Linked DNA regions of Homo sapiens: regions 2, 3, 4, 5, 6 and 7 are each linked to region 1. Evidence: promoter capture Hi-C in 16 types of primary human blood cells and fetal thymus (Javierre and others, 2016). All regions are on one chromosome and are shown on one strand. Each heading gives the region's core, a stretch centred on a gene start or on the middle of the fragment in contact. The rest is flanking DNA. Distances are from core to core; before and after follow the strand shown.

The links. Contacts are between HindIII fragments. The CHiCAGO score rates a contact against its expected background, and 5 or more counts as called.
Region 2: a contact is called between a fragment that was not itself captured here and the fragment with the promoter of CEP170 in region 1, in 1 of 17 cell types (M2 macrophages). The highest score is 10.3, in M2 macrophages.
Region 3: a contact is called between a fragment that was not itself captured here and the fragment with the promoter of CEP170 in region 1, in 1 of 17 cell types (non-activated CD4 T cells). The highest score is 5.8, in non-activated CD4 T cells.
Region 4: the fragment with the promoter of COX20 here is called in contact with the fragment with the promoter of CEP170 in region 1 in 1 of 17 cell types (neutrophils); the score reaches 5.7 in neutrophils.
Region 5: a fragment that was not itself captured here is called in contact with the fragment with the promoter of CEP170 in region 1 in 1 of 17 cell types (total CD4 T cells); the score reaches 5.1 in total CD4 T cells.
Region 6: a contact is called between a fragment that was not itself captured here and the fragment with the promoter of CEP170 in region 1, in 1 of 17 cell types (naive CD8 T cells). The highest score is 5.5, in naive CD8 T cells.
Region 7: a fragment that was not itself captured here is called in contact with the fragment with the promoter of CEP170 in region 1 in 1 of 17 cell types (M1 macrophages); the score reaches 6.5 in M1 macrophages.

The regions. Positions count from the first base shown.
Region 1 is chr1:243,252,847-243,256,530 of GRCh38, reverse strand. It overlaps CEP170 (centrosomal protein 170), which reads left to right and starts at 1,250. Exons shown (of 20, transcript NM_014812.3): 1 at 1,250-1,491. SDCCAG8 (SHH signaling and ciliogenesis regulator SDCCAG8) reads right to left here and starts at 490. Exons shown (of 18, transcript NM_006642.5): 1 at 291-490. The coding sequence starts at 357. The HindIII fragment of the contact is 10,208 bases long and covers 1-2,730 here.
Region 2 is chr1:241,616,436-241,620,182 of GRCh38, reverse strand. All of the region lies in intron 1 of OPN3 (opsin 3), which reads left to right. Among named protein-coding and RNA genes, the nearest start is that of CHML, 22 kb to the left of the region's middle. The HindIII fragment of the contact is 1,527 bases long and covers 514-2,040 here.
Region 3 is chr1:244,966,696-244,969,839 of GRCh38, reverse strand. LOC124900416 reads left to right here. Exons shown (of 4, transcript XM_054328428.1): 3 at 1-2,867. EFCAB2-AS1 (EFCAB2 antisense RNA 1) reads left to right here. Exons shown (of 2, transcript NR_111907.1): 2 at 1-3,144. DRC8 (dynein regulatory complex subunit 8) reads right to left here and starts at 158. Exons shown (of 8, transcript NM_032328.4): 1 at 1-158. RefSeq lists a silencer at 1-95 and an enhancer at 1,304-1,808. The HindIII fragment of the contact is 738 bases long and covers 1,477-2,214 here.
Region 4 is chr1:244,833,820-244,837,902 of GRCh38, reverse strand. COX20 (cytochrome c oxidase assembly factor COX20) reads right to left here and starts at 2,245. Exons shown (of 4, transcript NM_198076.6): 1 at 2,147-2,245. The coding sequence starts at 2,188. RefSeq lists silencers at 1,892-2,181, 2,222-2,271, 2,512-2,851 and enhancers at 2,352-2,471, 3,012-3,071, 3,575-4,083. The HindIII fragment of the contact is 7,018 bases long and covers 952-4,083 here.
Region 5 is chr1:241,859,085-241,863,302 of GRCh38, reverse strand. It overlaps EXO1 (exonuclease 1), which reads right to left. Exons shown (of 16, transcript NM_130398.4): 9 at 2,599-2,786; 10 at 1,801-1,897. Among named protein-coding and RNA genes, the nearest start is that of EXO1, 13 kb to the right of the region's middle. The HindIII fragment of the contact is 793 bases long and covers 1,720-2,512 here.
Region 6 is chr1:241,643,376-241,647,327 of GRCh38, reverse strand. No RefSeq gene overlaps it. Among named protein-coding and RNA genes, the nearest start is that of OPN3, 5.0 kb to the right of the region's middle. The HindIII fragment of the contact is 1,035 bases long and covers 1,948-2,982 here.
Region 7 is chr1:241,547,007-241,551,118 of GRCh38, reverse strand. It overlaps KMO (kynurenine 3-monooxygenase), which reads right to left. Exons shown (of 15, transcript NM_003679.5): 2 at 2,221-2,290; 3 at 1,345-1,442; 4 at 75-164. Among named protein-coding and RNA genes, the nearest start is that of KMO, 17 kb to the right of the region's middle. The HindIII fragment of the contact is 2,762 bases long and covers 1,215-3,976 here.

The sequences.
Region 1 (3,684 bases), core at 1-2,500:
AATGGCATAGAGCTATCCAAGAGTTTCTGCTGTCGCCGGTTGAGAAAGATGCCAAGTTAAGATCAAGGAGTTGATTGAGGTAACTACGGGAATCTGAGGAAACATCGTTGCTTAACTGTAAAAACTAAATCAAACTATTTCATCCTCCTCAAGACCACAGCAACATCCATCTTGCTCCTCTGTAGCGTGGACGGGGCAGAACCCAGGTGTTAGGAAACGCACCTGGTCTGCTCCCGCCCACTAGGCCCTGGGCACCTCGGGGCTAGGGACAGAGGTTTGGAGCAACTCACCCCGGAGACTCCGTTGATACTGCCCCAGAATCTCCTCCAGGGTAGAGTTCTCCGGGGACTTCGCCATGCACGCACTCTAGGCCCAGAGCTGGGAGTTACGTGGGGAAATGTCCAGCTTTCTCCCTTCCGAGAACAACAGGCCTGTGGCCGGGGAGCGCCCGCCTGCTTCCTGCCGCGGCTGTCACAGGGGAGCCTAGAATCCCGCACAGAGCTCTTGGGGGCTCTTCCCACCCACTGGCCCTCGCTTTGCACGTCGGGAGTTGTAGTCCTCACGTTCAGAACCTGCAAGCTCGACAATCCTCAGGGCCTTCCAGTTACACTACAATTCCCAGAAACCACTGCGCTCCAGGCGCTAGCTTGGACGGTTTGGCTGCCAGAGCCTGCTGCCAAGAGACAGGCTTGCAGGCCCCGCCCTTTTCCTCCAGCCCAGCCTGGTTTAGTCCCGCCTCCATCCCACTCTTCAGCTGCCTGGACCACCCAAATGACAGAAAGGGCTCACTGAAGGCCTTGACGCTTCGAAATTTGCTAATATGCAGCAGTTGATCCCCAGGCTACTCAAGGACGCAGATAGTAAACTCTGAACCCTGCTTCAGTTGCGAGATTTTTTAAAACGGTCGAATAAATCTTCAAGAAATAGAAGCTCTAAATCTTCCAAACAGCCTAGATTGTAAAGGCGGCCGACACTACAACTCCTAGCATGCCCAGCAACCGGACCTTCACTTGGAGTTGGCGCTCTGCCCGCTGGGAACTGTAGTCCTTGTTGGTTGCGGTCCCACCTAACGCCGAGGTCCTCTTCATTGTTCAAGCTGGTCTTTCGGGGCACGCCTGCGCAGTGGGCAAGCTGGAAAAGCGTGTGGGTGAGACCCTCGCACAACCCCTTTTCATTGTCTGTGTGTGGCGCCTGCGCAGTAAGGGATCGTTGGAACTGGGCAGGAGGGGATAGGGTCCGGCTCCTCGCCCTTTCCCGAGGCGCCTGCGCACTAGGCAGTCGGTCTTTGCCGTTACCGCTATGTGTGGGGCGTGTGTGGAATAACGTTATTGCCCAGCGGAGCTGAGGGCCCCGGAGCTCGACCGCAGCGGCAGCGACGACAACAGCGGCGACGACGACGACGACGAGGTGGGGGGAGGACGGCGTGCGAGAGACTCACGGGACGCGACGCGCCCCGCCTCCCCCGTCCGGTCCCTCTCTCCACGGTAAGGGGTAAGTGATGCGATCGGCTGCTCGGTGTAGGCGCCGCAGCCGCAGCCACCGCCGCGGCTGCTTTCCACATCCTGCTCCTCGGGTTTGCGGCGAGGACTCGGGCGCCGCCCGCCGCGGGGCGGGGGTGCGGGGCTGGACCGCGAAGGGGGCGCTTCCCGGGTGCTCCGCGCGGCGCCGCCACCCCCACCCTCTGCCCGCCTGGGACCCGGGGCTTGACGGGACCACCCTTCCCATCCCCCACCCGCCGCCCCCCGGAGCTCCAGTCCTGCGGCCCCCCGGCTTTCCCGAGCCCCTTGCTGCCGCCTCCGCATCCCCTAAGTGCATTGAATCATTTTCAGCTTTCGACTGGCTTTGTGCAGCCCTCCCCCCTCCGCCGTAGCAGTTTGCGAGGGGTGCGGGCGGAGCATTGGAGGGAATGGCTGCGCTGCCGCTGGGGAAGGGATTTTTCCCCCATTGGAGCAGCTCCCCGGGCCAATCCCTTTTGTGTGATTGGTTTTGGGGTGTGAGGCGGTTGGCGAGGTCAGGCGAGCAACCTTTTGGACGCGTTGGGAGGGCGTGGAAGACGCGGTGTCATGCACCCTGCCTGGCGACTGCACCCCGTGGAGGCTCTGGCTCTGTAGTAAACCCGGGGGAGGAGAGAGTGGCTTCCTGTCGGCTTCATTGTCCTAGGATTCAGATGTAGGGTTTTGGTACGTTTCGCTTCCATTTTATGCAAGCGATGAAAAAATAACATTTGCAGCTGCCTAACACAGGGCGGGAAGACGTGGGATTTGTATACTAAGTCACAGAATCTCTGTTCGGTGGTGTTTCGTAGAGTTTTATTTATTTATTTATTTATTTATTTATTTATTTTGAGGAATGTAAGGAAGACAGGGACTATGCCTGCTGGAGTCCAAGCACTGCCAAGGTGATCAATATAAAATTACTAGGTGACGTTGGAGCCTGGGCTAGAGAGGGCCTGACAACGAAGCTGTTGTGTCAGGGAAATGAACAAGCAGAATTGTTTTTTCATTGGGCAGGTAATGCATTTATGTTCCTGAGGGAATGGATACATCTTTCCGTTTATTTTTTAAGCAAGTAAAACAAACAAAACAACTGGCCCAGTACATTTCTGTTACCGAAGTTGTTAACTCATTTTTATTCTCTTAATGAAAATTCAGCCATTTGGGAGGAATTTGGCGAAGCAGATGATACATTTGATTGAAAATGCATATTTTAAAATGATTTAATCCTTAAGCTTACAATGTATGCAGCCGTTTGCTGGCGTTGCTTCTTAAAACACACCAGAAGAGAGAATAAAGCAGGATGGGGAGGAGCAGGTGGAGGAATAATGGGAGAGGAGAGAGTGACATTATGACTATAGTATCTGGATCTTCACTGGTATAACCCTAACTGGGTATGCTTCAGAGACTTAGGAATTCAGCTCTGGAAACAGTACACTGATGAATAGCAACTTATGTATTTTTCTGTTATTATTTTTTAAAAAGTAAAACTAGGGCTGCCTTTAGCTCTTCCTAACTTTGTAGATAACACGGAAGAGCCCAAGTGCACTTGACAGAGGAAGACACTAAAACTCAGAAAGTTAACTGACTTGTCTGCCCAAGCCAGACAGTTAATCGAAGGCAGAGCCAAACGAAACTCAAGGTCCATTCTGCAGAGTGATCTTTCCTGTGTCCCCCTAGCCCTTTTACCTTGTGAAAATGTATGGAAAGCTTCTCTATGTGCTCCCTGAGTAGGCTGTGACTATCACTGAACTTGATTCTCACCGTGATTAATCTAGTTCTTGCCTTTGTGATGTAAAAGTAGTAATCCTCCTAAAATGGACCTTTACTTTCATAAAGTAACTTACTACATGAGGAAAGATGTCCTAACATGTGCTTTTCATAAAAACGAAGTGTTGCAGTGTTTTCCCTACTACCTAATGGTAGCTACTTAACGGTAGGTTTTAATATTATTTCTTGAAAATCAATAGTATTTTATAATAGTATGATGATCAACTCTATAGGCTGTGTTAAAAATAAAATTTCCGCATAACAAGAACCTATGATGTTTATTTTGCCACAGTTAATGAGTTGTAATCATTAATGAGTTATTAGTGATTACTTTTAACTTAAACTAGAATTTACATTTTAAGATATATTAACTTTATGTTTTTTATTGGGTTGATTTTGCCATAAAGTGCTTTTTTCTTCC
Region 2 (3,747 bases), core at 28-2,527, 1.6 Mb after region 1:
ATGTACATGCTGGGCAAATTTTCAGATTGATTATTTTCAACTTCCCTCAGTCCCTCCCCTTTATTTAACACCCCCACCCCCAACCCTGCCCCACCCTGTATTCCCCAGTACTTGGTGAACTTTCCTCTGTCTGGGCTCCTCTGGCACTTAACATCTGTATGTCTCATTTGGCATTTCAAATACGCAATTTTGTATTTTACTTTGTTCTTTCATATTGCGTTTTCCCCTTTACATCAAGGACCATATTTTATGACTTTGCTTCTCCAGAACTAAACTCAGGGCCCTATACGTTAGAGCAACTCAAACATTTAAAGAAGATTTAGACACACCGGCCTGGTGACTGTCTGCTGTTAGGCTGTGATTTGTCCTGGAACACTTTTATCTGATTTACTTAGAATATGCCACAAGTTTCTTGTACAGCCAGGCTTCTGCTTTCCATAATGTGAGAGAATTCCCTAAGAAGTAACATCAGTCTGTTTCATGATGAAACTGCCCATGTCTCCCCAACAAGCTTCTCACTTCGTGATGGGTCTGGAGTCTAGGGAACTGGTGAGGCCAGGGTGAACCTCAAGGGCATTTAGTTAGATTTTCAAGAGCTTTTCATATGACATCACTTTCAGCCATTTTATGATATGCTGTGTCAGGTTCTATAAAATATGGCATTATTATAGTTTATTGGACTATAAGAAGCAGCAGAATTGCAAAAGACAAGGAGATAGGTAAAGAGGGATAAAAGCTAGAAATGAGTAAAGTACAGAAATCAGAACTGCCTGTATAAGCTAGAAAAGATGCCCTTTCCTCAGGGCTGGCTCAGCCTGGCACCCGGACATCGGTACTGACTCTCTCAACTAGGGAGCCTTGTGCATAGTATTACCTTTAGTGTCCCGTGCAGTACTGTTTTGTGAAATGTTAACGCAAATGAATGGTTCAGTTCTTATGTTGGGGCAATTTCCAAATTCCTAATATGCAGCCACTGAGCAGCAGATGGGGACAAAGGCAAGCAAGTTTTAGAGCCCAGTATGAAACAACCAGAAGGTTTTCCTGAAAGTTCTCAAGTTCCAAAGGATGAAGGAGTGTTGATGTAGAAAGATCCGTGAAGAATGAAGGGTTTCACACATAAAAGGCACCATAGCACTGAATTGTAAGTATGTACTGTCTCCTTGCCTGGAGTGATCCTTAATTATATCTGAAATATATATATATATATATAAACTAGCCTGCCCACTGGAGGCTTGAGGCATATCTCTTTATTCTCTATTTCTTAAAGATGTAGAAGAATTCTTAGATAAGATGAAATAAGCAAAAATAAATAAATACAAAAGTGGGTGTGCCAAAAAAAAAAAAAAGATACAATGAGAAAAGAAGAAAGCCTTAAACCTGGCATATACATGAAAGTCTTCTCATTGAACAGAACCATTCCATAGAACATTAAGGTCCTTAAATATATTCCCAATTCTGTGCTGCTGCCTGCACAAAGAGACACAGAACGATGGCGGTGTTGCTCTGCTGAAAACGATGGAGGTCAGCACGGACCAGAAATGGGCTGGCTGCGGAATCCATCAGAGACAGGAGAGAGGGCCACCCCTCTGCGCTGCACCTCTTGGTGTGGGATTGAGACTGAAGGCTTCAGAGGCATCTGGAGTGGTTTCTTGTGCTCCTGCACCAGTGATGGGAATTGAGGAAAACCTGGGAATTGAGCAAATAGTGATAGAGATTATATTAAAGGAAATCTGATTTTAATCTTGACCCATCGTTCTGAAAGTCAGGATCATCAGTGGTAACTTTGAAACTTACAGATATTCACGTTCTGTCCTAAGCCTACTGGATCAAGTATTTTCAAGGGCAGAGCCTAGGAATCAGCATTTTAAACCATCTCCTCAGGAGTTTCGTATGTAGCTATTTCAAAAGCTGGCATTTGGAAACAGCATTCTTATTAAAGGAAAGAGACATGCTGCTCTGATCCAGAAGGTGTTAAATTGAACATCAAAGAGATGAGTTAAATTCATGTTAACCCCAATTTGACAGTGTGGAAGAGAAGCTTGAAATAGTAGAATGTGAATGGGTCTGGGAACTAGCCTTGTTCTAACACCTACTTTGTGGTCTTGGGGAAAATATCTCATATTTCTAAAGTTTCCTTCTCCCACCTTCTTTTTTTTATTTTTATTTATTTATTTTTTTTAGTTCTTCATTACTTGACATTCTCAGATCAGGATGACTAAGACTTCCAAGGAAATGAGATTTTTCTTGCCTGTCCAGATTGTTCCACACTGGTCACCAATATGGGTTTTGCTTTATACTCCAACGCCTCCACCTCACAAGTTTGTTTACAACTTAAAGCATTTTGCCCAAACATAGAACTGCACAGGCTATATAGCAATTATGTTTTTCCTTAGCACGTTATATATGACAAGCTTCTTCTCTCATTCTTCTCATATGGTCCTGAGGTATCACATCACATTTTCTGGTTGATTAATTACTCACACACAATTACAGTGGAGCGTGTGATATTCATTCTTGAGAGAAGAGTCGCACTCGCCCTCTGTGTTTCCGTGCTCTCCATTTGCATCAGCAGCAGGGTAATAGAAAATGACTTAAATGGAATCAGTGTTGTTATCACCCGCTCTAAAACCTAAACCCTGAGCTCCCTTGAGAGCTTTGTAAATTATAAATGATGGAATGAAGATTTAATTCAGTGCCTCTGAGATTCCCTCATATTTTTCATTTGCTCTTCTGGGATATCGGATTTTTTTCATTTGCTGTCAGGTTAATAATCTAGGAAGGAACACTTAGAAACTAGACTCATCATTGCAGGTCACAGAGCTATTCCACAATTTATTCATGTGTTGAATGTTTTCATAGAATTAAAAAGACCTCAAGCTTCGCCATTGCTGAGAAACAACTTGCTTTGTGTAATCTTTTTGGGGAAAATCCAAATAGAGCTCCACACTAGCAGTCAGAAGGTCTGGGTTCTCATTCAAATAGAACCTTCCTAGTCTTGTGACCTTAGGCTAGTCACGGATATCAGCCCCTTTTCTCACACTCTCATCAAATGGGGACGATGAGACTTTCCTGCCTGACATGTCTGGAAAGATCTAATTAGAAAAATACATTAAAAAGTACTTTGAAAATTATAAAATATCATATGAAATAAAGTTATTATAATGTATTATTTTGATTAGAGAATAAGAGATGATAAATCCAACAGGATTGTCATTTGACTTTATAACACTCATAAAAATGAATATTTTATAGATTTTTTAATAGCCAAAAATTATCATGTAAGGACTGTCAAATCATATTTTGAGTTGAAAAAGTGATCCTTTAGGTAAAAAACAGCAGGGAGTTGGCCTTGTTTTACATTCTTCTGACCTGTGTATTGCTAGTTCCCTGAGGGAAAAAAAAATTTTTCATTGAAATGTCAACTGTGGCTATTTCTAAGCAACATTTCACCTGAGTGTTTGGTTAATTACAGGGATGACCATGTTTACTCCAGGATTTTTCCTTGTTATTTGGAAAGAAACATGGTCATGTGTATATAACTTTTATCAGCAGCAAATACATAATAATCCCTTGTACTATTCTCGGTGCCAAAATGATGTCAAAATACAAAGACATACTTAAGTATGTCATACTTAAGTTTACAATTTAATTGGAGAGGTAAGACATAAGTACACAGAATTGTACCAAAATATAGTAAGTAGGAAATAGCAGCCATGAAGATAGTCTGTTTGTGTTGTGGACGGACAG
Region 3 (3,144 bases), core at 596-3,095, 1.7 Mb before region 1:
GGCCGCGCCTGCCCTCCCGGTTTCTCCCGTCCAGTCTTCACCGTCCTTTCCCAGAGAAAGCGACAGCACAGCCTATGACAACCGAAGCTAAAACGGAAAAACTGGGCCGGGCGCAAGAGGAAACCAGAGCCATTCGACTATTGCTAGAGGAGAGGAATAGCTGCAGGAAAACATGCGCAAAATAGCACAAACATTGCGTCGTCAAGGCTGCAATGTCTAATACAAAATAGAAGGTTCTCATAGCAACAAAAACGTGCCCATGTTGTGCTCAGTATTACATGCGTTAAAATGTTCTTAGTTGTGAAATTTGACATGACCGCTAGTTAAAGTTACAATGGAAGTTTTAAATCCCGCTTTCCGAAAACTTTGCAGCTATAGCATGAAGTTAAATTTTTGTCTTATTTTCTGGATAAGTTTACTATACTGGAACATAGTAAAGCTCTTTTTATAAAGAGCTTTGAATAAAATACCTAATGATGTGGTTGAAACGAACACCTATTTTCAAAACTAATCTTAAGTGGTATTTCAGTGCATATGTTATGTAAAAGCAATTTATAAACTAAATTTTAAGAGCCTTCAAAATACAAGGTACTCGTATTTAATGACTTAACAGTTTTAATGCTTTTATTGTTTCTATAATCTCTCAGGAAATCCTAAAACTGACTATATTTTTCTTTATTAAAATAACTTTTTCTGTAGAAGATACCCATTTGGCGCTGTGATCAGCATTCTACTTGAAATTGAATATAAACAACTGAATCATTACAAAATGGCTCATGTTAGAAGATACTTAAAACGAATACAATCTTGTACAGTAAATGTTTAACACCCCAAAATAACGAAAAGTAATTATTAGCATTCATTTATATCTAAATCTCAGTCAATATGATCTAAATATTTGTGTTTAAAGACTCCCCCTTTCCATATAGATAATGAAGGGCTTTGAAATAAGTGTAGGAAACCCTAAGTTTGGTCTCAGGCTTCCTATTCATTCACTATGCTTTTTCGTGTGCTGTTTACAGTTTCCTTTTTCTGGAATGCCTTTCCCTGCTTTTTTCCCCCGCCAACATTTCAGCTTCCCACAGACACACATTTGTGCCCTCCTGGTTGTCCTGCAGGATGACCTTTGTTTTTGTTTTTGTCTTTTGTTTTTCGAGACAGGGTCTCGCTCTGTCGTCCAGGATGGAGTGCAGTGGTGTGATCTCTGCTCACTGCAACTTCCGCCTCCCGGTCTCAAGTGACCCTCCCACCGCAACCTCCCAAGTAGCTGGGAGGAGCGGCGCGCGCCACCATGTCTGGCTAGTTTTTGTATTTTTTGTAGAGACAGAGTTTCCCCATGTTGCCCAGGCTGCTCTCAAACTCCTGAGCTCAAGCGATCTGCCGCCTGCCTGGCCCTCCCAAAGTTCTGGGATTACAGGTGTGAGCCACTGTGCCTGGCCAGGATGACCTTTTTGAAGTCACCTAGTCATTGAAGCTTTCCCTCTCAGCCTTTTCCTCTGTGGCCCCATGCTTATAGAGCCTCCCACATTGATTTGCAGTGCCTTCGTTCGTTCACTTTATTTCCACCTACCAAACAGTAAGATCTTGAAGACAGAAACGGCATTATTCGTTTATATATCCCCGGTATCTAGTACAATTTTTCTGTTTGCAATAATAAATGTCTTAAAACTTAAGAAAGGAGTAAGTCTTCTCAATGACTTTTTTTAAAAAAGACCCAGATTCAGCACTTATTGTATGTAAGACAGACCTTCCTTTTACATTACATTTTTCATCAGTAAAAGTACTGGGCCAGGCGCGGTGGCTCACGCATAATCTCAGCACTTTGGGAGGCTGAAGCGGGTGGATCACTTCAGGTCATGAGTTAAAGACCCACCTGGCCAACATGGTAAAACCCCATCTCTACTAAAAATAGAAAAATTAGCCGAATGTGGTGGCTCACGCCTGTAATCCCAGCTACTCGGGAGGCTGAGACAGAAGAATCGCTTGAACCCAGGAGGCAGAGGTTGCAGTGAGCCGAGATCCGCCACTGCACTCCAGCCCAGATGACAGAGCAAGACTCCATCCCCAAAAAAAGGTACTAGTATTTCATGTTAATAAAATGGAATTCTTATATAAACATATATAAATTAAAAATTATTTTAAGAGTTGAACAGATTTCTCTGCAAATCCCCCTATATTTTTATATTTTTTAAACTAACTGTATTCAGCAAAGCTTTTTATTATTTAATTTATTCCAAACCACATTAATCAGTATTTCTCTGAACTCCTACAGCACATTTAAAACAGTACTGTTTCTCTAGGTGTGGGTGAGTAAAAAAATATTTAATATATGTTAATTAACTTCCGCATCTCCTGACCCCACTAAGGTTTGAATAGGAGCCTCCCCCTTTATAAACCCTTTTTATATACCCACACTACCTAGCCTAATTGGGGCACATATTAGCTGCTTCATACATACTTTTCAACTGCCTAATTTGCTGATTAGGCATAAAAGTATATAATTCTGGAAAAGTCTCCACAAGGTGAAAATGATTATCCAAATAATAAAGGCCCACAATGCCAGTGAGTACATTATCTGCATTATGCTGATATTTGACTCCTTTCAACTCTCTTTGGTTGTAGAAACATGACCGATGATTATATTACACTTTTAACTCTTTAAATATTATTAGCTTGCTTTGGACTGTGGAAAACTAACTACAATCATTTTTATTCCTCAGAATATATTTTGCGGCCGGGCACGGTGGCTCATGCCTGTATACCCAGCACTTTGGGAGGCCGAGGTGGGCAGATCACGAGGCCAGGAGTTCGAGACCAACCTGGCCAATATGGTGTAACCCCGTCTCTACTAAAAGTACAAACATTAGGTGGGCATAGTGCTGCAAGCCTGTAGTCCTAGCTACTCAGGAGGCTGAGGCAGAAGAATCACTTGAACCCAGGAGGCAGAGGTTGCAGTGAGCCAAGATCATGGCATTGCACTCCAGCCTGGGTGACAGAGCAAGACTCCATCTTAAAAAATATATATATATATATAGATAGATAGATAGATAGATGTATATATACATATACGTATACATATACGTATATGTATACGTATACATATATGTAGAGTATATATACATCTACGTATATGTATACTCTACA
Region 4 (4,083 bases), core at 996-3,495, 1.6 Mb before region 1:
ATGCTCAGAATCCTTACCATTGCTCCAAAGGCCCTACATGATCCCATGCTCTTTCATATCCTACTCTTGTCCACTAGTCCAGGTACAGTGGCCTTGCCATTCTAACAAGCCGAGATGGTTATTACCGAACGAACACATGCTGCCTTTCTCCTGGATCTTTGCATGACTGGCTCAGTAGAAGTCTTGCTTATTGATTCCTCCAGTAGAATGTCAGCTCCTTAAAGGGATTTTTCCTGTCTTGATCAGTCTAGTACCTCGTTCAGTGTCTAATACTCAGTAGGTACTCTAAATATTTTTTGAATGGGTGAATTAAGAATTTACCTGAATGTGAATTTACCTGTATGTACCAAATTTCACATTTTAAAGTTTCTTAAAGGACAAGAATGTGGCAGAGGACAGTTTTTAGGGGCTAGTTCTATCAAGGTATGCCAGCTTGGTAACTCCCATTTTTACTTTAGGTTTGCTAATTCTTATAATAAAATAATCCTCCCTGGGTTGTGCTGGAATGATCACTGACAAATTCTTTTAAAAAAAATAACCGCAGGCTTCCTTTCTGACAGCACCTTGGGCTGTTAATTCATCATAGCTTCTATTAATTTAATTAGCTTTTTGATGGGCTCTGATAGGTACTACTGTTTCATGAGCAATTTTTGTTTTTTTGGCCTCCCACCTCTGACTGTGCTCGGTTTGAGGCTTATAACTATCTTCATTTCAACAACTACAGTATTGTTTTGCTACTTACTGATGGGCCAGTTAAATAGGTCAATGTTGATCCTCTTTTAAGTTTTTTTTTTTTAATTTCCAATGGATTAAACCACCTTTATGACCTTTAAAAACAGCAGTTATCTCCTACCAAAAGTCCCATTCAGGATTCCAGTGTTTATCACAAAACTGAATCTAGGATTTACTGTGTGTATGCAAAGATCTTTTTTTTTTTTTAAACACTAAGCTTATTCCAGATGGGCAGTGTATGGGACAGTAAAAACAGATAAGGCACCAGTAGTACGTAAACTGACAACCTGTTGGATATTAAGTATGAAAACAATTTATACAATATTTGTTAATATTAACCATATGATCTGATGTCATGGCCAAATTTGGATGGAAGCCCACCAGAGAAGCAAGCAAGAGCAAGAAGTGAGCAGAATTTCCAAGCTGGGAGAATATCTTAAGTATATATTAGGAGCCATTTAGCACACAGTGGGTCTTCTATAAATATTTGCTCGTGATTAGCCAATGTTACGATCTCCCTAGTTTATATTAAACTTTTTTCCTCTTGCATTATTCTTTTCTGAATACCTGTTCTGCCCTGAGGATATAAATTAGGTTCCCTGCTCTTAATAAGGAGCCCAGGAAAAGAGGAAAACAAGATCATTTATTACCTTCCAATATGATAAATGTAACGACGTACAAGATGCCTGGGAAGATGGGGAAAGTACGTAAGTCAGCTTTGGTGAAACACAGGAGCCCTTCCAGGGAGAGCGCTTGGTTTAGCTTTACTATACCAAGAATTTGGGTTTTATCCTTAAAGAGATAGGATGGGCTGCTACGACTGGATGTTAGGCAGAGGAATGAAAACTGTCCAGTTTACAGGCTGGAAAGGGCCAGCGGACAATAGTGGAAGGTGGATTCAGGAGAGTATGGAGACAGGGACACCAGCTAGGGAGGCTACTGGTGATGGGGAAGAAATCTTAACCCTTCATCTCATCGTAGTACAATCAAGTCATCCCTCAGCAATTACTCCTATGTTAAATGTGATGAATACAACGTGTTAAAGACAAGGCACCTGTCCTCAACGGAGCTTTAATCTCTACTATTAGCCTTTACTAACAAATTACAGTGCAGTGCCCTTAGCAGCAAAATTTTCTCGCCAAAGATTCAGTATTGTTAGCTTATTTCATAATGACCTGTAGTAAGTCATTAGTACTACTGGTCCCCTCCTCCCCCTAGTTTTGGTCAATTTTGTCCCGGCCACTTAGATTAAAATGTTGGAGGCTTGGGATAAGGACTAGGAACAGTTAAAATAGTTTCAAGCCCATGGGTGGCAGAGAAGCCAGTGACACGTGCTCCGGGCCTAGGAGCTCCGCGGAGAACGTCCTTACCCACCGCCCACCCGCGGCGCGCGCCCCGCCGACCCCCAGGTTACCTTCCTCTCCTCGGGCTCACCGGGCTCCGGCGGGGCGGCCATGAGGACTACTCCGCGACTCCACCCGCCCTGCACCGCCGGGGTCGCGGAAGCAGAAGCCCGGCTGGCCGCGCCCCTCCCCGTCCCGCCCCCACGCGCCGCCGCCTCCCGCCCTGTTCCGACGCGCCGGCCGCCATTTTAGGGAATGTTCCTAACGCTCCGCAGTGGCCGCACGGGGCCGGGCTGTCATGTCCTTTGTTCCGTCGAACGGGTCACACTTTCTTCCAAGCTCGGCACACAGCCTGCAGGGGCGGGAGAGCGGAAGGAGATGGGTTCGGAAAACAAACCGACTCCTAGATTCCTGGCGAGGTGGGGGCGTAACCGAGCCAGACAGCCCCGCTTCCCGCGCCAGCCCCCTGCTCCGCCCCAACCGCCATTTCTAACCGTCTCCGGCGCGCGTGCTCACACGCACGAGCCTCGGGCGCGCGCCGAGGGGCGGGGCCGCTGCTTTGTCCTGCGGGGTGGGCCCCACCGCGGGGGTCGGCCCGGCCCCAGCCCCCAGCCCGCCCCAGCCCACCGACCCGGAAGGCGCTCCGCGCTGGCTCGGCGGCCCTCGTCCCCTAAGTGTCCTTTGTCCTTCCGGCCACGGGACGAGCCCTTGGTGCCGGGGCAGCCCCACTCTGCACCAGCAGCCATTTAGTCCCCCGCGCCTGCCTTGCGCAAACGGGGCTCCCACGCCCACCCCACTTCCTCCCTTTTATAGTTTCATTACTAAGTGGCTTTAACATAGAACCGCGCAGTTCGCCTAAAGGAGACTGGGGACAAAATGGAGGGAGCAGCTCGCTAATGAACATGCGTCAGCACGTTGGTGTCCGCGGAGAGGGCGCGCGTGTGGCGAAGTCTTCCGGCGTCCCCGAAGGAAAAATGCCTCTGCAACGTGCATTTTTGATGTGAAGTCGTGTTCCACGTTTCACTCCTCCCTAAGACTGCGACATAACGTGAAACAAAATACTGCATATTGTCGAGCTCAATGGAGAACGCGTGCATGCAGGGTCGAGCCCATTTTTCAGCCATCAAAATAATACAATGCAATTTTTTCTAGTATTTATAATTTTTCCCCTTTAACTTTATGCCTCCTTTATGTACTTCTACATTTCACGTTTAGGTTATATGTAACCTAAGGGCACTCCTTAGGAAACTGGACTTGTAGAATATGTCATTGTGCAAAGTCATGCTGCTTCGAATTATGCTGCGCGCTGGCACACAGCAAGCGCTCAGTGTTAACGATGTCGAATTCATATTAAGTACTGTTCATTGGGCGTTTTCTTACTCCGTAAGGACCTTACTTGCATGCCCATTTGATACCTTTCTACAATCCCAGTAAAATACACAGTTAAGGTTGTGTATTTATGTGTCACATTTTTTTTTTTGAGGTTTTTTTTTGCGGGGGCGGGGGGGGTTTTTTTGTTTTTGTTTTTGAAATTGTAGTTAGAAACTACATACTGTGCCGGGCGCGGAGGCTCACGCCTGTAATCCCAACACTTTGGGGGCTGAGGCGGGCGGATCACGAGGTCAGGAGTTCGGGACCAGCCTGGTCAACTTGGTGAAACCTCGCCTCTACTAAAAATACAAAAATTAGCCTGGCGTGGTGGGGGGCGCCTGTAATCCCAGCTACTCGGCAGCCTGAGGAAGGAGAATAGCTTGAAAACGGAAGGCGGAGGTTGCAGGGAGCCGAGATCGTGCCACTGTACTCCAGCCTGGGAGAAAGAGCGAAACTCCGTCTGGGCGGGGGGAGAAACTACATACTGCTCTACTGTTTGCTAGGGAAAAGAAAAAAAGTCACCCTACTGGTGATATCCTGCCAATTCTGGATTCTCTGCTGAAATTATAATGCTAACTATGCTTTGAACTCCGGATCTGAAAGGCCGTGTTGAAGGTAGTAATATTCCATGAAGGAG
Region 5 (4,218 bases), core at 867-3,366, 1.4 Mb after region 1:
CTCCCCTATTTACGAAAATGGTCAGCTGGAAAAGTTACTTAAGTGTCCTCTAATTGTTTCCTCATCTGTAAAATGAGAATGGTGCTGACTTCAGAGGCTTTCTGAAGAGTAAATGACTTACTATGTCTAAGGTGCTTAAAAGAGCACCTGGAAAGTAGCAAATGCTCAGAAAATGTTTGCCATTATTATTAGGAAGCATTCTCTTAGGTGGAGTGAGGGACATGCTTTTTATTTCCACAGAGCCTGGAATACCTCTTTAGCGTAGCACTTACCGCATTTCTTTCTATAGAATCCCTTCTCCTTCCTATTTAGGCAATGGGCATTTGACAGGCAAGGATCTTACTTTTCCTGTATTTCTTATTTTTCTTTATATTCCAGAACCCTAGCTAACCTAATTACATTGTTTCAGTGCTTGATAAATGTTTAGTAAAGGAATAAATTAGTGAGCAAGAATTAAACTGGAAGCTTGGGAAAAGAAGAAAATGTTAACCAGAAGGACAACTCAAAGAGGCAAGAGGATGTAGCAACGAAATGGAAGCCAAAGTTTATTTCCAAGTTTTCCAGTGTGAGAACAAAAGAGACCTGTGGCTAACACTCATTCACTCAACATATAAACATAGTAAATATCATACAGCAGTGAGGATCACCAAGTTCTGCCTTTATGAAGACCACATTCTATTGGAAAGAATCAGAAAAGAATAGAAGCATGTTATACAGTAATAAGTGCTAAGTAGGAAATAAAAGAGAAATGTGATTAAAAGTTGATTAAAAACATGAAGAGTTTAGTTTTGCCTATAAATAGACTTGGAGGCTACAGGAAATCAGAGACGCAAGAGACAGTGAGAATTCTGTGGTTGGTGCACAGGCGAGAGACTGGAGTAAAGATGGAGATGTGAGTTCTTTACGTAAATGGGATTAAAGCCCTAAGGACTTACCTAAGGAAGAAATGTAAACAGAAAAGAGAACAGAGGATAAACAGAAATACAAAGAGAAAGACAATGATGGGAGACAGTATCTTAAGGAATACATACAATACTGAAGAAGCAGAAGAAAACAGCAAATCGCGGCTAGGAGTGGTGGCTCACGCCTGTAATCCCAGCGCTTTGGGAGGCCGAGGTGGGCAGATCACCCGAGGTTGGGAGTTCCAGACCAGCCTGGCCAACATGCAGAAATCCTGTCTCTACTAAAAATACAAAATTAGCCGGGCGTGGTGGTGCATGCCTGTAATCCTAGCTACCCAGGAGGCTGAGGCAGGAGAATTGCTCGAACCTGGGAGGCGGAGGTTGTGGTGAGCTGAGATCGCACCATTGCACTCCAGCCTGGGCAACAAGAATGAAACTCTGTCTCAAAAAAGAAAAATAAAAGAAAACAGCAAATTGTTTAAAGAAACAGCAGGGGCGTGCATTAAATATTTGTTAAATTGTGCATGAGTGAAAAAACAGCTTTAACTCCCGTAGCATTCCTAGGCTTGGGTCTTCAATGATGCCAAATGCCACAGAAGCCGAACGGAGTGAGATGAGAAAAAAAGGCATCAAATGCTTGGTATATTCAAATGAAATGCTCAAGGATAAGGGTTTGATAATAAATAACAGTCACTTCTTAATTTTAAAAAATTAACCAATATACCTATGCTCTAATACATGTAATTTCTCTAGGATCAAGTTGTTTTTAATGTACATTCTGCACAGAGCCTGGATATAGAAACGCTTAAAAGAAGCTTAGTGTATGAAGATTTGCCTTTAATCACAGCTCGGGACATAACTAAAACGTGTTTTCATAGGGTGGTCATCAAAACGTTACCATAGCAGTGTCTGGATTGTAGTCATCGATCTGTTCAAAAGTATTTATATCTTTATTTCCAAGTGCTATTTGAAGAGCTATGGAATCATCAACATATCTAGATTAGCAAGATTAAGGAAAAATGTATTTATTAACAACCAACCAAATGATATTATACTAAGATGGAAAAATGTTTTCTATTGTCACGAAAATCCATAGGTTTATGACTTAAATGGAGTCTCCTTACTTTATACATCAGCATTACTGAAAGCAGACACAGTTTGCTAGTCTCTATCTGTCTCTGCAGGAGTTGGTGTCTTCTGACGAGGGCCCAGGCCATCACTGACTCCCTGCCTTTAAGGGAAACAGAGGGGAAAGTCCTAGCCACCACCTAAGTGACTCAGGGCTCTGCATCAGCCTGCATGTACATGGCCAGTGGCTATGGGAAGGGCATCCTCTCCTGATGCACTCAAATGCCCAGAATGCTCTTCCTGATAAGTCGAGCTTGCTTGCCACGAGGAGGTCCTCTCAAGAGCCACCTTTGGAATGTGTACCGTAAGTGACGGACCCTGTGCATGCTACTGTCAGTCAATCTAAGTAATCAGGATGCATAGTGGATGAGCCTCGGGTTTATAAACAAAAAGTTGTTCTCAATTTTCACTAGCATGGTAATTTAAATGAACAATATACAGATTTCACTATAAAAAAGAGAGCAAAAAATAATGTGCAAGCTTTTTACTAAATGCCTCACAAAAAAATCACCATAAAAATATTGAAGAAAAATGCACAAATTCTACCATTCTGTTTCAGAAAGGATACTGCCCAGCGTAGCTTAGTGTTTCAGGATCAACATCATCTTCATAGGCGTTCAGAGGAATAAGTTTCCTTTTGATGGGATCAAAAACTAGCTGATAGAGGAAGGTATTGTTGGCCCGAATAAACCCGTTGATGTAATCCTCTGGTACCGTGATATTCATCTTGAGATAATGTCCAATTTTCTTGATAACCTAACAATGCATGCAAAAATATTTTATCTGCAACTAAAGAACAGGGAACATATTATCCTCAAGGCTGATTGATTTACATTCATAAAGAGGGATTGAAACATTAACTGCTTTCATCTACATTAAAAAATTCTACCAGCTAACACAACCATGTTACATCACTTAAAATTCTAAGTCTCATAACTAGTATTTTCTTTGGTTTTTCTATTACTAATTTGAAGGATAAAAAAATACAGTTATATAGTACATCAAGTTTGTGCTTCTAGGTGTAACTTTGAGATACATTATCCATTCATCTTCAAAGTCCTTTTTATCAAGAAAGGAAAAAAAAAGAACATCCAAAATCTGAGAATTAAAAAAATGCAAATATTTCTAGATCATATTTTTAAACCAAGTTGACATTCTGATTTCTGTGAGAGTCATGGATGCTTAAAGCTGGAAAGGATCCTAAACATTGCATAGTAAATTCATAGATGAAAAAGGGAAGGCCCAGAGAACCAAACGGATCCTGGAGTCACAGGCTAGTTAAGGCACGTGGTCCTATTCCCACCTGGGACACTATCTTCCAACCTAGAGATCTTTCCATTACATGACATCACTCTTAGTCCTGAGGACTCAGGCCTTATACTCCTGGAAATAGAAAAATGAAATTTCTGCTCTGCAAACTGTTAAGGGTTTAGAGAATATCCAAGGGGGAAAATGAGCTTCTTTGATGTTTATTTTTTAAGACAAACTACAAAGTAGCAATGTCCAGAGTCTCAGAATTTTCCAGATGATATATGATACATGGTATCAAATGAGGCTTAATAAGGCAGCAGATACAGGTTGGGTACACATTATCCAAAATGCTTGGCACCAGAAGTGTTTCAGATTTTGAATTTTTTCAGATTTTGGAATATTTGCATATACACGTTATGAGATAACTTAGGGATGGGGCCCAAGTCTAAACATAAAATCCATTTACGTTTCCACACACTGACAGCAAGAGGGTGAAGAAGAAAAAAAACTCAATTTATGTTTCATATAAGCCTTACACACATAGACTGAAGGTAATTTTATACAGTATTTTTAATTATTTTGTGTACTCTTCACATGAGATCAGGTGTGGAATTTTTCACTTGCCTGCCGGGACTCAAAAAGTTTTGGATTTTTGAACATTTCAGATTTTTGGATTAGGGATGTTCAACTTGTATACGAACACAGCTGTCTTCTATTAGGCCACATTAAAGAGATTTGCATAAATGTATGATTCCTCTCTCTCATAATTTTTGTTTTAAAAAATGATTATTTTTCATAAAAGCATGCTATTTATGCTAACATGTAATGAGTTTATTATAAAGTTTAAGTGAATTGATAAACATTTAAATTTTTGTTTTAATTTTTAATTCAGTAAATATCAATAGCTATCGCCTACATAAACAAAAAATATTACCAT
Region 6 (3,952 bases), core at 1,216-3,715, 1.6 Mb after region 1:
AACTGCATTTTTTTTTTTTAAGACGGAGTCCTGCTCTGTCACCCAGGCTGGAGTGCAGTGGCGCGATCTCGGCTCACTGCAAGCTCCACCTCCTGGGTTCACGCCATTCTCCCGCCTCAGCCTCCTGAGTAGCTGGGACTACAGGTGCCTGCTACCACGCCCGGCTAATTTTTTCTGTAGAGACGGGGTTTCACCATGTTAGCCAGGATGGTCTCGATCTCCTGACCTCGTGATCCGTCCGCCTCAGCCTCCCAAAGTGCTGGGATTACAGGTATGAGTCACTGTGCCCAGCCATAAACTCCATTTTTTAACAGCAATGTAACAAGTGAGATTTTATTTTAAAAACAAATGTATGTATTTGGGGGTTGAGTGGATGTGGACAGATACACAGTTTATGTATTAAGCTGATCCCTACATCTCACCCATCTGAGGAGCTGTATGCACCAGGAGCATTGACATTCAGAAACTTAAGGCATGCTAGATTCTCCTTTTTTTAAAAAAAAGTTCAAGCACATCCACTAAATTGCATTTCCTAAGGTAGGAAAAGTGCATACATGTTTCACAAGATTTTCAGTAAGGGCTCTTCTGCTGCTCACCAGAGACCAAGGTTAGAGGGGCCAGGGAAGAATGTGTCTCAACCCTGGGAAAAGGAATGCTTGATGGAAGTTCCCTCTCTGTTGTCCCCTTATGATGCAGAAGGCTAGGGGTTATCAGTTTCCAAACAAGAATGTCAAATGAAACGTGTCTCCATTCCTCGCTCCCCTATACTTTGCAAAGGACTTCCTTGGAATATAGGTATTGTGATAATTTAATGTTCCAATGTAAGAGGGTGTTTAGAGGGTTTTAAATGAACCTCTTTCTGTCTAAAGGACAGGCTAGACGGCCCACGCGGGAGGATGTGTGCAGTCACTGGGAACCAGTTCCGCAAGCATTAGCTCCTGCTCACCTTCAAACTATTTAAGAGAAGGCAACGAGTTCATTAGGAGCTCAAGGATATCCTTAATGAGCACTTCCACAGAGAGAGTGTTCAGCATGGAGGAGCCATGACATCTCCCCATTTCTTTCCATCCCAGGGGCACTGACAGGGAGAGTCTGGGGCTGGCCAGCTCTCTGCAGCAGACCACTTCCAGAATTTGGCAGGGCAAAAGATGCATACATATGTACAGAGGAACAGACGCTAGACTCTCAGTAGAGGGGCCAGACTGGGTCAGCTTGGGAGGGTCCCCAAGCAGGGTCAGAGAGTGAGATCCCAGCAGACAGCTACTAAAGGCATTGCCTCTGTCGAGAGAGTTGTGTGAGAAAGATGCCAGAGATCTCAATTTCTCTAGAGAACCTGAAAATCATCCTAGAAGAGAAAAACCCAACATTTAAAACTTGCTACAACCAGAGAGCACTAATATCAATTATTTTTAAAAGACAAAGTTGCAATCTGTTGCCCAGGCTGGATTGCTGTCTCCTGGGTTCAAGTGATTCTTCTGACTCAGCCTCCTGAGTAGCTGGGATTACAGGTGCATGCCACCTCACCTGGCTAATTTTCATATTTTTAGTAGAGATAGGATTTCACCATGTTGGCCAGGCTGGTCTCGAACTCCTGACCTCAAGTGATCTGCCCATCTCGGCCTCCCAAAGTGCTGGGATTACAGGCGTGAGCCACCGTGCCTGGCAGAGAGCACCAATATCAGACTACAACTTAACCAATCAAGGAAGATTTTTTTTCCCTCACAATCTCAAAGGGGCCCAGAGCAGCATCTACAGGTAGCGAGCGGATCAAGAAAATGGGGGAAGCTAAAGTTGTTTTCCTTCTCACCTCCACCCTCACAGAAGTTCTCCAGGCCTGAGGCTGGCTGTATCTTGGAGGGTGTGGACAAGCGAGTTTTCCGTGAGTTTTAGCTTTTCAGCATTACAATGTGCTGGCCTTGATGTCAACTGCAAGGGAGCAGAAAAGCTTTGGAAGCTGCCAAAATTCCATCTAAGGGCAGGAAGGAGCAAATGGTCAGAAAACATTTGAAATGAGTAGGGAGAACAAGCTGCTTTTTGGTTGCAGCATACTGAGTTCAGCTTGCTTCCTCAACTGGTTATAGTAGTTTATTTCTCCCACTCTGAGAGAGTGAAATGCAGGCACAATTTGCACATGCTTTTTTCTTTTTTTAAAAAAAAAAGTGGTAAAATATACATAACATAAAATTTTCCTTTCTAACCATTTTTAAGTATACCATTCAGTGGCATTGTGTACATTTACAATCTTGTGCAACCATTACTACTATTCGTCTCCAGAATTTTTTCGTCATCTTAAACAGAAACTCTCTACCCATTAAACACTAACTTCTTATTCTTCCCTCTTCTCAGCTTCTGGTAACCACCATTCTACTTTCTGTCTCTGTGAATTTGCCTGTTATAGGTACCTCATATCATTGGGATCATATAATATTTGTCCTTTTGTGTTTGGCTTATTTCCCTTATCGTAATGTTTTCAAGGTTCATCCATGTTGTAGCATGTACTAGAATTTCATTTCTTTTAAAATATGGCTGTATAATATTCCATTGTATGTATATATCACATTCCATGTATCATTCATCTGTTGATGGGCATTTGAGTTGTTTCTATTTTTTGGCTATTTTGAATAATCCTATTATGAACATAAGTATACAAATACCTGTTTGAGTCCCTGCTTTCAATTCTTTTGTGTATATACCTAGGAATAGGATTGCTAGATCATATGGCAATTTTTTTTGTTTTGAGACAGGGTCTCACTCTCTTGCCCAGGGTGGAGCGCAGTGACACGATCACAGCTCACTGCAACCTCAAACTCCTGGGCTCAAGGGATCCTTCTGCCTCAGCCTCCTGAATAGTTGGGTGAGACTACAGGTATGTGCCACCACACCCAGCTAATTTTTTATTTTTTTCTGAAGAGATGGGGTCTTACTATGTTGCCCAGGCTGGTCATTGTACTCTTGGCCTCAAGTGATCATCCTGCTTAAGCTTCCCAAAGCACTGGGATTACAGGAATGAGCTCACAATAATTCTATGTTTAACTTTTTGTGGAACTACCAAATTGTCTTCCACAGGAGCCACACCATTTCACATTCCCATCAGCAGTACGACAGGGTTCTAATTTCTACACATCTCCACACAAAAACCAACACTTGTTTTTGTGTTTTGTTTTGTTTTTTGATGATAGCCCTTCTAGTAGGTGTGAAGTGGTATGTCATTGTGGCTTTGATTTGCATTTCCCTAATGACTAATCACAGTAAGTTTCCTTCCATGTGCTTTTAGGCCATTAGTATATTTTTGGAGTAATGTCTACTCAGATCCTTTGCCTATTTCTGAATTGGGTTGTGTGGAGTTTTTTGTTGTTGAGTTGTAGGGGGTCTTTATAATATTGATGCCTTATCAGATATATGACTTGCAAGTATTTCTCCCATTTGCTGTGCTGTCTTTTCACTCTTTTGATAGTGCCCTTTGATGCATAACAGTTTTTAATTTTGATAAAGTCCAATTTAGCTATTTTTCTCCTGTTGCCTGTGCTTTTGGTGTCATACCCAAGAAGTTTTCTTCTAAAAGTTTTATAGTTTTAGCTTTTACATATAGGTCTCCAATCAATTTTGAGTTAATTTTTATATATGATATAATGTAAGGCTCCAACTTCATTCATTTGCACATGGATATGCAGTTTTCCCAGCATCATTTGTTGAAAAGACTGTCCTTTCCTCCTTTCCCCATTGAATGGCCTTGGCATCCTTGTCAAAAATCAATGGACCATATATGTAAGAGTTTATATCTTGGCTCTCTATTCTATTCCATTGGTCTACATGTTTGTCCTTATGCTGTGTATTAGGCTGTTCTTGCACTGCTGTAAATACCTGAGACTGGGTAATTTATAAAGAAAAGCGATTTAATTGGCTCACAGTTCTGCAGGCTGTACAGGAAGCATGGTGTTGGCATCTACTCAGC
Region 7 (4,112 bases), core at 1,346-3,845, 1.7 Mb after region 1:
CATCAAACAAGAGGCAAGTTCCAGACTTTGACTTCCTTATAATCAATGCACAATGATCTCCGGGGTAAACCTACCTGAGACTTTGTCCCATAGGGAATTGCAGACTTTTTTCCTGAAAGAGAGTGGATCATTCTTGCTCTCATGGGAATACCTTGGGATACAATCTGAAATGAAACCAGAAATATTGACTTCAATGACAGTAACATGGCATTATGCAAGAAAGATAGAAGTTGATTTTTAAATGTAATTTCATATATTCTCCAAGAAATTTTAAAAATTGTGAAAGACCATAGAAGCCCAACGTGGTAGAAACTCCTTCAATGAAAATGGTGATCCTGAAGCTTTTAGTTTGTTTTTTTAATCTTAGATCTTAGAACCGGCTTAAAATTTATCTGATCTAAATCGAATATCACAGATTGAGGGAAGTGATTTGTTGTTACAGAGGTTAAGTGATTTTCTCATCATGACAAAAAGGGAGATTATGAGGAGTAAAACCCAGGGTTCCTAACATTCAATGCAAAGTGTTTTCTTACACATGACTGCTGCTATCTGGGAGAAAATAATAGGAATGCAAATAGCACTCATATTTGCTAGTACTGTCAGCTCAAAGACACATTGTCACTGAAAGTAGTATCAAGAAAAATACATCTATCATGTCTGTTTATATTACCAAGCTAACATAGACAGTGAAAAGTTCTACAACATTAAGCTCACATGATGAAAATCTACTACAGGCCCACCATTCTTTATCCAAACCCATGGGGCCTGATGGTTTCAGAATTCAGAATTTTTCAATTTTAGAAAGTAGTGTAGTACACATATGCTGGATATCACATAAACCCGCCCCATAATCAAACACAAAATTTCTGTAGCAAAACATATTTATGCTAAATGAGATTTTTAAAAGACTACAAAGAGTCTCATGTCAAGTCAGATTTTGCTACTCAATGAGTGATGAGAAGCTTTCTATTTTCAGAGTCTTTTTGGAGTATAGAATTGTAGATAAGATATTACGGGCCTGTGCAATTGAAAAAAAAAAGGAATCTGGCTCCTTTTATCCTGGATGCCATCTTGACTCTCACTTTCTACAGGCAGTGACGCACCATCCTGTTGAGAACCCAATATCAGAAGCAATCATCCGGTTGCAGGGTCCTCCTCGGGTGCCTCGAGTGTCCAATGTTCACCCTCTTGCCAAATTTCGAATTTTAAAAGCTTTAGTAGAATGAGTTTTCATGCAGAGATTCTTGGTATTAAATGGTACTTTTTAAGCCAGGATGAAATCAAACCATGCAATTGTTGAAAAATACCAGGTATTATCTTCTGTAAGAAAGATACATTAAGTACCTGATCTTCCAGGCCAACAGCTTTCAAGGCTTGTCGTCCTCTATGAGAAAGGGCTAAGTTAATGCTTCTTCCACGTGTGAAGGTAGCCACTCGAGTATCTGAGACATTGGAAGCAGACTCCATGTTACGCACACTTTATATCCTAGCTCAGGATGAGCAAAATTACTGCATCTGAACAACTGGTTCATTCGGAACCACATTAAAGAACTTCTTAACTCTTCTAAAGAAAATGCTAATAGCAGTAACTTTATATTAAATTAAATTTAGATAGTTGGTGTTTTTTTTTAAACAAAACTAGTTTTTTTAAGAAAAGCGTTTTATTAAAGAAACTTTTTAAGTTCAGAAAATCTAAAGAAAAGTCAAAGAATTAGAACCACATCCTGCAATTCTTTTTCTTTCTTTCTATCTTTCTTTCCTTCTATCTTTCTTTCTTTCTTTTCATCTTTCTTTCTTGCTCTTTCTCTCTTTCTTTCTTGCTCTTTCTCCTTTCTTTCTTTCTTCCTTCCTTTCTTTCTTTCTTTCTTTCTTTCTTTCTTTCTTTCTTTCTTTCTTTCTTTCTTTCTTTCTTTCTTCCTTTTCTTTCTCTCTCTCTCTCTTTCTCTCTCTTTCTTTGGGTCTTGCCCTTTCACCCAGGCTGGAGCACAGTGGCATGATCTCGCCTCACTGCAACCTCCGCCTCCTGGGTCCAAGCAATCCTCCTACCACACACCACCACACCAGGCTAATTTTTGTATTTTTTGTAGAGATGGGGTTTTGCCATGTTGCCCAGGCTGGTCTCAAACTCCCGGCCTCAAGCGATCCATGTGCCCTGGCCTCCCAAAGTGCCAGGAGCCACCGTGCCCAGCGTTCATCCTGCTTTTTTCACCATGGACGTACCTTCCCTAGCTTCATATACATCAATCTGGAAATTCCTCTTTGCAAGAAAGCATGCTTGTAATGAGCCAACCTAGAAATTAAAAAAAAATTAAATATTTATCTGATTCCACAAATATAGGGAATTTTTAGCAGCAAAATGAAACATCATGTGAGGCTATGTTTTACTAGCCTCACATTGTGTGTGGTCATATTTTACCAGCCTCATTTATCACATTGATTTACTCAATTTCTGCTGAAAAGTATCAGTGGCAAAAATAGCAATATTTATTCAAGATTAAGTAATATGATTTTAGAAGTAGTTTTTTTTTTTTTTACTTTTTTATAGTGAGGTAATTTTCAAACAGAAAGAACATAAAACATATATATCTTACAGAATAATTAGAAAGCAATTCTTTATAGCCTTATATCCCTTATAACCACTACTTTGGTCAAAAAGTAGAATAGCGTCATTCCTCCAAAACTCCCCCCACCTCCTCCCCAGTTACAGTCCTCTTCCTCTCACATAGACGTAAACATTATTCTGACTTCTGTGATAACCCATTCTTGCTTTTTTACATTTTAGCCTTTAGGTATACATATTTCTAAGCAATATACTTTAATTTTACCCATTAAAAATTTTTTAAGTTTTTTTGTAGAGATGGGGTCTCACTATGTTGCCCAGTCTGGTCTCAAACTCCTGGGCTCAAGTGATTCTCCCACCTTGGCCTCTCAAAGTGCTAGAATTATAGGCATGAGCCACTGTGCCCCGCCATTTACCCATTTTTTAAAACCCTATAGTTAGAATCACACTGTGTGTGTGTGTGTGTGTGTTTTGTTTGTTTTTGCATCTTGCTTCTCTAAGGCAACATTGTGGGATTCATTTATATGGTTACATGTAAACTTAAGGTCATCTTTTTTTTTGTTTCTATATGATTCTTCATTAAATGAAAGATCACAGATTATCTGCCCTACTGTCAAAGGACACTTGAGTTGTTTCTGGTCTGGGAATATGTTAACAATGCTTCAAATAACATTTGTGTGTGTGTGCAGGAATTCTGGTACATATATGATAACTTTTTTTCAAGGGTTCTATACATGGAAGTGGAATATCTGGTCAAAAGTTTATGTACCGTCACTTTTCTGATGCCAAACTGTTTCAAGAGTTGGTTGTAACACCAGCAGCTTCTGAAAATTTATCTTTGCCAGCACTTGATGTTCTCAAACTTTTCATTATTGTGGAGTGGGAGGGTGGGAGCTGGTAAGTTGGAGAGGAATGTAGTTTTACTTTGCATATGCTTAATTACTAAAGAAGTTGAGCACTTTTTTTTTTTTTTTTGAGACAGAGTCTCGCTCTGTCACCCAGGCTGGAGTGCAGTGAGCACTTTTTCATATATTGATTGGCTGTTTGGATCTCCTCTTTCACCAAGTGTCTGTTTAGATCTTTTGCCCATTTTCTATTGGGTTGCCTATCTTTTTTCTTTTCTTTCTTTTTCTTTTGTTTAGTTGTTCATAGAGTCTGAATATAGAGTCTTTGTCATTTTTAAACATTAAAAATATCTTCCATTCTGTGTCTTGCTTCTTAAATGCTATAGTCTATTTTGAGTATGAGAAGCTGTTTATTTTAATGTAACCATATTCACCAATCTTTTATTTTATTATTAATGCAATTACAATAGTCATTTTATTTTTAATGCAATTACAAATGTCTTGTTCAAGAGATCTTTGCCTATTCTGAGATCATGAAGAATTTTTTCTGATCTCTTGTCTTTTTAAAGCTTTAGAGTGTTGCCCTACCAGTAGCTTTATATAGGCTGTGGTAGTTTACTACCTCATCACTGGCAACCTGTATTTGGTAAAGTCATCTGTATATAATTATCACACTTGAATTTTCAACAATAGTCAATACCGTTAAC